Regions from separate parts of the Homo sapiens genome. Here region 2 is linked to region 1. Evidence: promoter capture Hi-C in human tissues and cell types (Jung and others, 2019). All regions are on one chromosome and are shown on one strand. Each heading gives the region's core, a stretch centred on a gene start or on the middle of the fragment in contact. The rest is flanking DNA. Distances are from core to core; before and after follow the strand shown.

Region 1 (6,192 bases), core at 2,304-4,803:
TCTAGGGTGACTGGGCTGGTTATTGCTCTGGGGAATCCAACTACCTTGGTGCTCAGAAGGGAGCTGTCTCCACCACTCCCCGTCCCTGCTATCCTCACGCTAGTGACACATGACGTGCAGCCATCTCCAGCATTGTCAGAAATGCCATGCTCCATGGAGTTGAGGGCAGAAAGCCTGAAGCCAAAAATCTAAACTTACCCTGGTCCTCCACAAAGAGGGGTAAAGAGAAAAGTGCAGCTTTGGCATGGAAGATCCTTGGCATTTTGCAATGAAATAAAATCAGAATGCGTGTGATTTCTATCAAGATCTAGAGTGCCGCAGACTGAGACAGTCATGGGTAGGTATCCTTTGAAGGGGTTGATACTTGTTAACAGGGATACAGTTGCATGGCATTTCACAAAGTTGTGTCTTGTTGCATTGACATGAAGGGAACTGGAGTGAACCTGCTTTTTAATACTGGCCTTACCTGCTTTTATAGTAATCCTGGTCCCCTAGGTCCCCAGAGACATGCAGAGAAGTGGAAATTGGCTCAGAGGGTCTTTGAACTTGTACATGGATGTCACTACAAGCCTCATGGAAGCAGGCAGCATTTTGATGTGAGTCTAGTTCACAGAAGTAAATTTTCATAGTGATTTTTGTGGACAAGTCCTAGGCATTAGTAATAATACTGGCGATGCTGAAGATAATAATAACTACCACACATTGGGTGCCTCCTGCGCTCCAGGGCCATGCTTCAATTACCTTCAGTTCTGTAAAGCATTACCATCCTCATGGCACATGTGGAGATGCCGAGACTCGGGCAGGGTAGAGAAGATTCGCACTGTGTAGAGGACGGCAAACAGCACAACAATGCCCGCCACCAGGAGCAGCAGAACCAGGATGTCAGCCCACTCCATGGTTTATAGGTGTCGCCACGAAAGACACGACTCACACAGGCACTAGATGGAACAACACTTTACTCACACAGAGAAGAGACAGAGTAAGATCAGCTGCAATCATGGGTTCAGTCCCGCATGGCCAGGGGTCTCCTGCTACAGCAGACACAAGGTGACGGTCTGCACACACCCCTCTTGTGCAGCAGCGGGTGGACCCTGTTTCCTCCCCACCTGGAACAGATATAACAGTGGGGTTGGCCAGGTGCCTGCCACATGACGCACAAGCTTAAGCAGAACAAAGAGTACACGCTGAGTCTGAAACAGGAAAAAGATATTCCCACGTAAGGCGATAAGCCCAGCACAAGCTATGAGAGCTCCTTATCTGTTGGTAAGGAAGTGTTTTTGGCTCAAGGCCACTTGTATGGGGCTGAGCAGAGGTTAAAAAACCACATGCATGAGACTGCCTTTCTCAACCTAGGTCATATCATTGGTGTGCAGCAGAGCCAGGATTTGAACCGGGTCTTTTTGGCACCAAAGCCTATGAGCTTTCTCATTGATGAGAGGTCTTCCCCAGGCCACTCCAAGTCTCCTCTCCCTCCTCATGCCAGCCACATCAGCTAATGGACAGCCAGATTCAGCAGAGAAAAATGAACTGAGTGGGTTTCTCCCTCCTTGGACTTCTTTAATGCAAACACCTAAAATAATATTTTCCCTGAAGAATCCTCACGTATAGAAGTTTAAAGCAGAAAGCTGGATTCCCATCAGAGATGAGAAAATGCATAACAGAAAAGCAATATATGGGAAACCAAGGCACTTGGGCAATTATGTAAATAAATGGACATGGTAAGGATCATTCAGCCCTGGAAAAAAATGGACACATGTAATTCCCTTTCAGAATCTGAAAAAAGAAGAAAGAGGGATGGAATAAAAGCCCTTTTTGCTTCCGTTACAGAGTCCTGCAGTTCTGTTTGAATATTAAGCCTCCATGTGGTTGCTATGGGGCTTTTGTAATATGACTAAACTGTATTGGCTCATTTGGGGAAGGGTTATCACCTACAATTCACAGATAGGATGCCAGAGGTTAAAAGAAGTTCAGTAGTTGATCTATGTTCACCATGTTCGTTTTAGAAGCCAGGTTGAATTGAGCCCTCAGATGTTTCCAATTCCCGACCTGATCCTCATCTTCTCAAGGAACAATTGCAGTGAATCCTCAGTTGCCTACGTGGTTAATGTGGAAGAACAGAGACATAGATAATCCTAAATGATGTCTATGTCTCTTGCTCTAAACATTTGCTTTGGAAACTTCTTGCAGACCTTAGAATGAAGCCACCCTAATGTGCAAGGGGCCCCATCCTTACTCCACACCTTCCCTACTCAACGTTGCCCACCTCCCACTCCATGAAGACCTAGGGGCAGTAGATCAAAGGGAAGAGGCTCTTAACTCTCTCCTAGGTTGAGCTAGGGTAGTGGGTAGAGGAGAGAGGCCGATAATAAGGCATTTTGATTTAAAAGGCCTTCTGCAGTGCCGCAGGCAAGCAGAACAGAAACAGTAAATGAGACAATGAATTGTGTCCGTGGAAGACTCCATATGGACAGTGATTCATTATGTTAATAAGGAGGTGAAAGCCAGAGGTTGACTGTATTCTGATTTCATGTCTGGGGAATCTGTAGCTCAGAAGCGGGGAGCATCCAAATTTGAGGTCAGAGTCCAAATTCCAACACCCAGCTCCTGATTCCAATTTGGTTGGTCGAATTACTATCATCTCCTAATGACTAAGGATGCTTTAGAGCCAGATGGGACCTGAGTAGAAGTGCAAGCAATGCTTAAGGTGGAGAAGAGTGATGCTGGAGCCAAGCAGAGCCAACTCCTTGGGTCCATGCAACAAATATTGAGCACCTACCAAGTGCCAAGTGATGGCAGAACTGGCATTGGGAGAGGGAACCACAGAGGAATCTGATGTTGACCCTGGCCTAAAGGAACTCAGGGTAGGAGGTGATATGGGGCAGGCACAAATCTCTGTCATACATACAGAGAGGGAAGTGAGATGAGGTCTAAGACAGCTTCATTTATTCTCCCATTCAATTAAATCATTAACTCAGCTACTCAGGCACGATCGTAAGTGCTCCAAATAAAAAGCTAAACAAAACTGATCTCCACCCCAGAAGCTACCATTCCAATGCTGAAGCTAAGTCACCCCAGGAGGCATATCAAAACACATTCCCCAGCCCCCCAGGCCCCAGCACTGACATACTGATTCTGAATCTTTATAACTGGTACCCAAGACATCTGAAGCCTGGTTTCTAGTTATTCTCCAACTTTGGGCACTGGTCTGGTGGAATAGGGAGGGAGTCCAGCTAAGAGAGTCCAGAGGAAGAGTCAGAGATAGAGAGCAAGGCTTCATGGCCCACCTCTCCCTGGAAGCCCTCCTTGACCAGCACAGCCCACACTGATCCCCATGTCCTCTGAATCCAACCTCCACTGCGTGTTCTGCAGTTTTGCATTTTTCTGTTTGTTGTTGTTTTTTGTTTTTCTTTCTTTCTTTTCTTTTCTTTCCTTTTTTTTTTTTTTTCCAAAACTAGCAGGTTTAATCCCTCTTCTCCTGCTTGTGTCTCATCTCTAAAGGTGGGTGTTCCCGTGTTCCAGGTCATTGTGATGAGAGTTCCAGGGGACTTGTGACACACTGCTGGCCGGCTCTGTTCAAGTGTGGGAGGTCAGGAGCAGCCAGTTCCTCCTGGGAATGCAACCCATCTCCGAAAAGGATTAAGCATCACTAGGGCTCCAAGTGAGTTCTGATCAGAGGCTGTTCGGAAGACAGCAGGGGCCATGACCACCCTCTCTCCTGAAAACAGCCTCTCTGCCAGACAGTCAGCCTCCTTCATCCTGGTGCGTGTTCTTTGTCAGCTCTGAGTGCCTCCCTCCCCAGCCTCTGGTTGGCACTGGGACCATTTTCCCCTGCTGGGTAGGAAAAGCTAGAACCCTGAGCTAACATAGAAGGTGGAGCAAGGGCGGTTGTACCTTACTCTTACCATCAGCCCAAGGACAGGACTGAGACATCCAAGCCCCCTTTCACCTTCTTTCCAAGCCAGCAAAACCTTCTCCACATATGTGCTATTCTAACTTTATTGAGTTGTAGGTTTGCAGGTGCGAACCTGAAGATGCTGATAGATTTTCATCGGTGCTTTTTGCCAACAATTTTGGTATACTGCCACCAGGTGGCAGTAATGCTTTTGTTAGTAGGTAGTTCTAAACCCAGTTTACAAGATACAGCTATTTGTTAGAAGTCGGCTTCAGTCATAAAAATTTTCCACACGGTATTTTTTCAAAATCATAACTAATTACAATAACTTTAGCCAATCTTAAGTCTCATTAATCATAGTGATTAAGAGAGTGATACATAAAAATGCAAAATGGACACTCCTCTCCCTGAGTTTTAAATGTTACTGCTTTATGGCAAATTATCACCAGGCCTTGCTTTAAATTTTCTTTATATCTTTCTCATTTCTCTGAGCTTAGAGAAGGCTAATAAAATAAACTGTCACATAGCATTTATTATGTACGATGAATGTTCTAAATGCTTTATTTATAGTCATTCATTCTCATCACAACTCTATGAAGTGAATAATGCTGTTGTCTTCCTTTTATAAATGAGAACATGGAGCCACAGAGACTTTGTCACTTGCCTACAGTCACACAGCTTGTTAAGTGGCAGAAGTTGTATTTCGACCCAGACAGGTGGGGTGCAAAACTCAGTATTCTCAAAGTGTGGCATCCAAACCTGCAGCATTAGCACCAACTGGGAACTTGTAAGAATGCAGACTCTTGGGCCCCAGATCTTCTGAACCAATAAACTGGAGACGAAGCCCAGAGATCTGTGTTTTTTGTAACTCATCCCTCCAGGGCACTGTGATGCACAATTAGCTTTGTGAACCACTGTTTTAAACCATTTTCTTCATCACGGTGCTGTACTGATGATACACCCTCCACACCTGGGTTGGTAATAATTGCTGAAGTGGGAACCCCTTGTTACGGTTGGGAGTCTATCTTGTCCTCAGGTGAACTGGAGTAGAAAAGAGAACCTGTCCAGGTGCAGTGGCTCACGCCTGTAATCCCAGCACTTTGGGAGGCCGAAGCGGGCAGATCACCTGAGGTCGCGAGTTCAAGACCAGCCTGGCCAATATGGCAAAACCCTGTCTCTACTAAAAAATACAAAAAATTAGCCAGGCGTGGTAGTGAGTCCCTGTAATCCCAGCTACTTAAGAGACTGAGGCAGGAGAATCACTTGAACCAGGGAGGTGGAGGTTGCAGTGAGCTGAGATTGCGCCACTGCACTCCAGCCTGGGCGACAGAGTGAGACTCCATCAAAAAAAAAAAAAAAGAAGAAGAAGAAGAAGAAAGAAGGAAGGAAGGAGGGAAGGAGGGAAGAAGGGAAGGAAGGAAGGGAGGGAGGGAGGGAGGGAGGGAAGCTTAAGCAAAGTCAATGACCTTCCCTGGGCTTTATTGGAGGTTCTGTGGCTATGAGTATTCAGAGAAACTTGGCATTAAAACCCTCATAAAAAGTTTTTCTTGTCCTCCAAAGGCTTTCTTTTTTTACTGAAAATATGGGAGAAAACCCCTAACCCAATGATGCAGTGGGGAGAGGAGATTTATGCCTGAAGCCAAGGCCTCTAGCAGCAGGAAACTTTTAGAGGGACTGAGCCACTTAGGGCTCCCACTTCTGGTCCCCTTCCCCAGGGGAAGAATGGCCAAGGCTTCCTCAGGTTTGCTGATGTAGAACTTTAACCTGCCTAGATACACCCTGAAGGTGGGAGATTTCCATAGCTGCTCTATCTAGCAGTACGCTTCCCAGGACACTAGGAAAGGCACCACTGCAGAGCTGGAGGGTATCCAGCCCCCTCGCAAACTGCAGACTTCCCCTCCCGGATTACCAGGTCATTATACCCAGTGTATGGAAAAGGGTGTTATTAGGTTGGTTGAGCAAAGAACAGAGGAATATGGGAAGATGAAGGTTGATTTGAGAAGCCACTGTGTTGACAATCTCCGTCACATTAAAGGAGCCCAGATACACATTCTCTGATTTCTAGCATAGGCAGGTAGGTGGTGTGCATGTAGAGAGAGGGCTTCTAAGTGACATTTCCCCCTTTGCCTTCTGCGGGTCAACAGCCTTCTTGTTCTGGTCCTTGGCTTGCTAGCAAGTGTCTGAGATAGTCTTGTGGGTGGCCTATAGTTTGCTGAAGTTTGGAGAGATACAGGGAACTGGTGGGTGTAGAGAAATGGAGTTTCCTAGAAGGAAGAATCAGTGACTTTTTTTGTGGGTTT
Region 2 (6,192 bases), core at 615-3,114, 190 kb before region 1:
ATAGAAGTGTGGTCCCTTCAAAGTAGTCCTCTGGGGTGTCTGTGTCCTTATTAGGTTGACTTCTGAAACTTCCTGTGAGAATTCCATCATTAAACTTTGGCTTTCTCTGGAGGGGTAAATCTTTGTTCTTTGGAGTAGGATTTGAGTTTGACAAGGAGCTGGACAATGCTGTTTGGAGTCAGAGATGCAGTGTGATAAGAGAGCTGTGAGTTGGAATTCCACAGCACCTAAAGAGACTCCTAGAAAATGTTGTAGAACAAGTGGCTGGATGGTACTTGGTTGCACATACGGGGTTTGGGGTCTGTGCAGAAAAATGACCAAATCCAAGCAGCCTCTGAGATTATGACCACATGGGGGCTGTTAAGCTGTGGATCTGAGTCATAGGGTCAGGGAAAGAGGAAAAATGGCAAGGAGGATGACGTTACTGCCCATGAGCTTATCCTCTGAGTGGGTGGCGACTTCTCATTGTCCTTTTCCCACATCCCCAGGGCAGGAGTGTTAGGGAAGTCCACCAGCAAAAGGGGGAGGGCACACCCAGGGCCTAGGGGAGGGGGAGAGGGGTGAGGACTGGTCCACATGATTTTTGAGAAATTGCCTTTGGTCTTGTTGGCTCAGAATGGACCCCACACCTGGAAGGGGGCCACGTGTACAGTTATGCAACCCTTGCCTGCCACCCCCAGTTCTACCGCCCTTGCAGTGTGCCAGATAGGAGCATTGGGTTTTCAGGTTTGGGAGTGGGTAGGGTTGTGCTGGAGGCTAAATAGACATTATCTCATGTAATCCTCATAGTAATCCTATGAGGTAGGGTATCATTAACACCATTGTACAGTTGGGGAAACTGAGGCCCAGAAAGGGTAAGTCACATGCCCAAAGACACACAGCCGGCAAATGGTGGAGCTGGGCTGTTGTCTGCTTCCAGAACTGGCTTTTTCTGCTGCTCTGGAGGTAGGCACAGGTTTTACCCCTCTTTCTGGAGCCCGGTAAGATGTGCCAAGGGTCTCCTTAGTAAGTCAGGGAAGACTCATCTGGGGAACCAGAGAAGGGGCAGGCCTGACCTGGGTGACCCAGTGACTAGTGGCCTTCACAGCATAGTCAGGGCCTTTGCTGAGAGTTCTTCTCTTCCAGAGCCCTGGACTTTATCATGCTGGGGCTTCCAGGAGTTCCCCCTCCACCCTCCAGTTCTGACCAGTGCTCCCAGCCAGCTGCCCCCTTTCTCCCTTTCTTTCTCTTTGTGGTCCAGAGAATGAATGCCTGCTCCACACACCTTATGCCATTGGGAATCTGACCTTCTCTAGGCATAGGGAGCTTAATCTGCGGGAAGTGGAGTGAGAAGCATTTCTTGCTGGGAGCCTTGGAGCAGGGAGAGATACTGTCTCTGGGAGGCAGGGGTCCCAAGTTACCCTAGAGGCAATGCAGGCTCCTAGGAACTGGGGCTGCCTTGTGGGAGACATTGGAATGTGTCCCTGTGGGAATGCTCTGTGCTAGGGGCTATGGCAGCAGGACGGTAGGAGCTCATGGTACTTGGAACTGTGACCAAGCATCTGCGAAGAGGAAGGGGCCCAGGACCACTAGAATGAGTCAGAGCCAGAGATGGAGTCGAGTTGTGCATTTGCTACTTTGGAGCTGGGGCACTGATAGGGCTCTAGGTGAAAAGTAGGGATACAGAAGGAGTAATGGTCCCAGAGGCCCAGATGTGTGGCCTGACAGAGGAGGTCTTGGCCAGGGAGAGTGGGGTAGGGGCAAAGTGTTCGCTCAGTGCAGAGGCCCCATCTAGGAGGCCTTGTCCCCATGCTTGCGGCAATAATAACAGCAATAATAATAATTATTACTGCAGTTTTGGTACTGGGCACTTTCCTAAGTCCTCTCTCTCTATTGTCTTATTTTATTCTCACAGCAGCCCTGTGGGGTAGGGATTGTTACCCCCATTTTAGAGATTTGGAATTGGGTCTCAAATAGGTTAAGTCATTTAAACTTGGTCATGTGTTCAGCAAGGCATCGGTGTCAGGATTGAAACCCAAGGCTGCTGGCTTCTGAGCTCATGCTGTACCCTGGGCAGGCAAGGCAGCCTGGTGATTCCATTCAATAAGTGAGGAAGAGAGATAGGAGCATCAGCTGGCTCTTAGTCACTTCTGCTGGTGGCTGATAATTGAGTGTGGGCCCTTGGCCAGCCGGCCACCACTCTGGGTCCAGATTTCCATCTGTACAATGGGCCTGGAGCTAGGCGCTGGACCAGGTGTACCGTAAGAGGCCTTCTAGCTCTGAGGACTGGTGGAGATTGCTACACTCCGAGAGGGGTCTGGTGCTTAGATGGAGAGGGGTCGGCAGAGTTGTTCTGCTAAGCTGAGCCTCTTTCAGGGTAGAAACCAAAGGAATTTGGAGGCAAGGAGGCATTTAGGCAGATCACATCTGGAGAAAATGCACCCTTCCTTGAGTGCAGTCTGGAAAGGCTTCTGGAAAGGATAGGATTTCCAGATATGTTTAGGTGGGCACCTAGCAGGACTCAGCAGATATTGAGTGAATGCAGATGTGTGTGCCCTGGGCCTGCCAGTGTCTGACCCGAAATCTGCGCTCTGATGTGGTCTCATGTGCTCTCATCCCTTTCCTTCCTCTCCCTATTCTCCTTGTTGCCATCCCTTCTTTTGGCTGGACCTCCTCTGGGCCCAATGTAGCTTTCACTTTTTTCAGGGCTCTGTGCCTCCTGTGTGTGTGTGTGTGTGTGTGTGTGTGTGTGTGTGTGTGTACACATTTCCACATGCATGTATAGGTCAGTTTTGCAGCCCCTGCACATGCCTCTAGTTCCAGGGAGACCTTAGCCCTGCTTTGCTGGCCAGCCCTGATGACATACTACTGTCCTGACTCACACAGAAATCGCTTGGAGAGGAAGAACTGATTCCTGCTCTTGGGTGGGATCACGGGACTGGGGAGTGGTGCCCAGTGGACAGCCTTGAACATAAAAGGCCCAAACTGACTCAGATTATCAGGAAAAAGGAAGGCAAACAGGGAGGCTGTTCCCAGGGAACTCTAGGGACCCTCCCATCTCTTTTCTGAGGCTGCTGCCCATTTATAGAGCACCTAGTATTAACTAGGTCAGTTTTGATAATTTTGCTCATTGAGTCCTATAATCATCCTATGAGGGTAAGGTTTATAATCCCCATTTTACAAATGAGCAAACTGAGGCTCAGAGAGGATATTTTCATAAAGTTTCATTACTAGGAAGTGACAGAGTCTGGATTTGAACCTGTCTCTCCAACTCCAAAGTCATCTTCTTAAACACTAGTGCTAACTTCTTCCATGAAGCTTCTTGTGATTACACCAGCCCAACATGCGATATGGTCACAGCATGGGATGGTGGTCAGGACCCTTTGATGGTTGAGGAGATGAAGACCCAGAAAGGCAAGGGGTTTGGCCTAGGGAGCCTGGCAAGTGAGTGACAGAGCCTGGTCTAAAGTCCAGGATATCTCTGTTGTTGCTGTTTTCCTTTTTTCGTTAATTGCAAAAGAATTTACATGTTCATAGTTAAAAACAGAGAAGTGTATCAAGTAGAAAACAGTAGCAAACTCTCACCCTTATTCTGACACTCCAGAGTTGCATTCACTCTCAGGCATCCAGATCCTTTCCCCATATACAAACATCCATCCATCCATATATCTATCCATCTCTCTATCTAAACACACATGCATTCATTCGTTCACTCATTGAATCGTGCATTGAGAACCCATTATGTGCCAAGCCATTGCTAGAATTAAGGATGCAATAGTTAAATAAAGCAGATGTGGTTCCTTCTCAGGGAGGTTCTCATATATCATGAAGAAAACAGACTGGGTGCAATGAATGACAGGGTCCTTCTTAGAGTGGCAGATCTCTTACCTGGCTTTTCTGTCAAGGTGACCCTCAGAATATGGAGGTGTTACCTTTTATCTTAGTCCATGTTTTACTGCTATAACAGAATACCACAGCCTGGGTAATATATAAAGAAAAAAAGGTTATTTGGCTTGTAGTTCTGGAGACTGGGAAGTCCAAGGGCATGGTGCTGGCATCTGGCGAGGGCCTTCTTGCTGCATTATCCTATTGTGGAAGGGCATGTGAGCGTGCAGTACAGACAGTATGGGGGCAGCACTTACGCTTTTATCAGGAGCCCACTTTTCCTGTGATAACAGCATTAATCTCTTCACTTCTTACAGGCCCCACCTCTTAATACTGTTACAGTGGCAATTAAATTTCAACATGAGTCTTAAAGCACCCATGTCATCTAGGAAGAAGAAACTGTATTTGCAGCAACACTGTGAGGTAGGAAAGGGAGTCCTATGTTGTAGGAACTGGAAGCAGCCCACTGTGGTGAGGGGCAAGTAGGAAGAGGTGAGGCTGGGCAGGTGGGCAGGGCCAGGGCAGATGGGGCTCTGTAGGCTATGGAGGAGCTGCGATCTTATCACAAGGAAAGTGAACAGCCCTATGATTAACTATTGAAGGCAGTGATATAATTTATGCTTTTATATTAATAGCAATTATTCTGGCTGTTGTATAGAGTATAGATTGGAGAACAGAATTGGGTGGGGGAACTAGAGAAGGTGAACAGACTGGTGAAGAGGCTTTTATAGTTATCCAGGCAAGAGATGATGGTGACTTGGAAGACCAGGAAGAGAAGCAGGGGTAGAGAGAAATGGAGATAGTGAAGATATAGCAGACATATTTGAGGAGTCCTTCAGTTACAGATAATAGAAAACTAGCTCAAGCACATTTAAGAAAAAAAAAAAAGACTTGTTTAAGTACCTAGGCAGTCTATGTGTGCAGCTTGCTTCAGGAATAGGGGCTTAAATGATGGTTTTAGGGCTCTATATCCTTCTAGCTTCCATCTCTGCCTCTGTTCATTTGTTTGGATCAATTCTTTAGATTGTTGGTAGCAGACACATTTATTGCTAACAGTCCCAGACCGTATCCTTCTTAGTAATCTCAACAAGAAAGAGTCTTTTTTGATGGCTGCAGCAGCAAGGCTCTGGGGAAGTCTCTGATTGGGTGTGGCTTGGCTTACAGCTCATTCTCGAACTAATCACTGAGTGGGGGCAGGGCAGGTTTCTCCATGAGCCAGGTCTTGTAACATGCCCAGGCCCTAGGCTGGGAGGACAGCTCCACCAGTACAGCATGGACTGGGCTCCCTGCAGGAGTGCGGAGCCTTGCTACCAGAAGGGGCCAGCATAGACCAAGAGAAGGGCACTGTAGAATAAAGGACATGGAGCAAAATAACTGTGTTAAGACTAGCTACCAAAGACGGAGACGATCTGCTCGGCATTGAATTTGCCTCTTTGTCAAGGAAAGAAGGAGCAGAAGATGTTAAGAAGGAATTGAAGTTTAGGCCATACGGGGAGGTGCTCATCTGTTTTAACTGTATTTGTCTTCTGGCCCCTGGGATTGCCTGTCCTGGTGTGGGGTGAACTTGGAGACAGAATCTCTGAGAAGCTGTCAGGGATATTTCAGGCCAGTCTAGGGTAGAAGAGGGTTGGACACGTGGGTCACAGTATTCCACAGTTTCCTGCTGTGCACAGATTCAATCCGAGTCCCCATCTACGTCCCTCACTACCTCCCTTGCCTCCTCTCCTGAGTCTCAGCCTCTCCTGGAGTCCCATCTTCCCAGAATATGCTGTGGACATCTCCTCTTCTGTGACTTTTCATGCTGTCCCCTCCGCCAGATAGCCGAGATGTCTCCTCCTCTGTGCAGTCCTTACTGAGCCTCCCCAGCCCCCAGTGAATGGCTTGACCCTTTCATCCAGGTTTAAGCCTACTGCCTCGTCCATTCCCACAATACCTTGTATAAATGTGTACCAAAAAACTGGTCATATTCTATTTTAATGATATATTTGTTTCCTAAACCTTTTTTCTATTTTTAATATGAAAATGTGGGATTTTAAATATGCCATTTAGCAGCTCTGTAATCTTGAGCAAGTTATTAAATCTCTCCATCCCTGAATTTACTCCTCGGTGAAATAGGATAATAATAGTACCTACTTCACAGAATTGTTGGGAAGCTTAAATGAGTTAATATGTGTAAAAGCATTTAGAACAGAGCCTGGTGCATGGCTTTCAACAAAACTGGCCTATGTTATTATTATTTGATAAAAGCAAAATAATATATATAACATGGGTAACTTTTGAAGCATAATAATAAACATACCTCCCAACTTGAGAATGAGAACCCCTGTA

Evidence for each region. Contacts are between HindIII fragments. The study calls those that stand out against the background at their distance.
Region 2: a fragment that was not itself captured here is called in contact with the fragment with the promoter of TBC1D21 in region 1 in 2 of the 25 tissues and cell types used here (mesenchymal stem cells and mesendoderm cells).

What each region holds. Positions count from the first base shown.
Region 1 is chr15:73,870,011-73,876,202 of GRCh38, forward strand. TBC1D21 (TBC1 domain family member 21) reads left to right here and starts at 3,554. Exons shown (of 11, transcript NM_153356.3): 1 at 3,554-3,759. The coding sequence starts at 3,700. It overlaps LOC102723657 (a long non-coding RNA gene), which reads right to left and starts at 3,525. Exons shown (of 6, transcript XR_932455.3): 1 at 3,285-3,525; 2 at 1,933-2,093; 3 at 742-1,106; 4 at 467-602. The HindIII fragment of the contact is 7,159 bases long and covers 1-6,192 here.
Region 2 is chr15:73,686,490-73,692,681 of GRCh38, forward strand. The region is part of intron 1 of CD276 (CD276 molecule); the gene reads left to right. Among named protein-coding and RNA genes, the nearest start is that of CD276, 5.2 kb to the left of the region's middle. The HindIII fragment of the contact is 5,586 bases long and covers 1-4,657 here.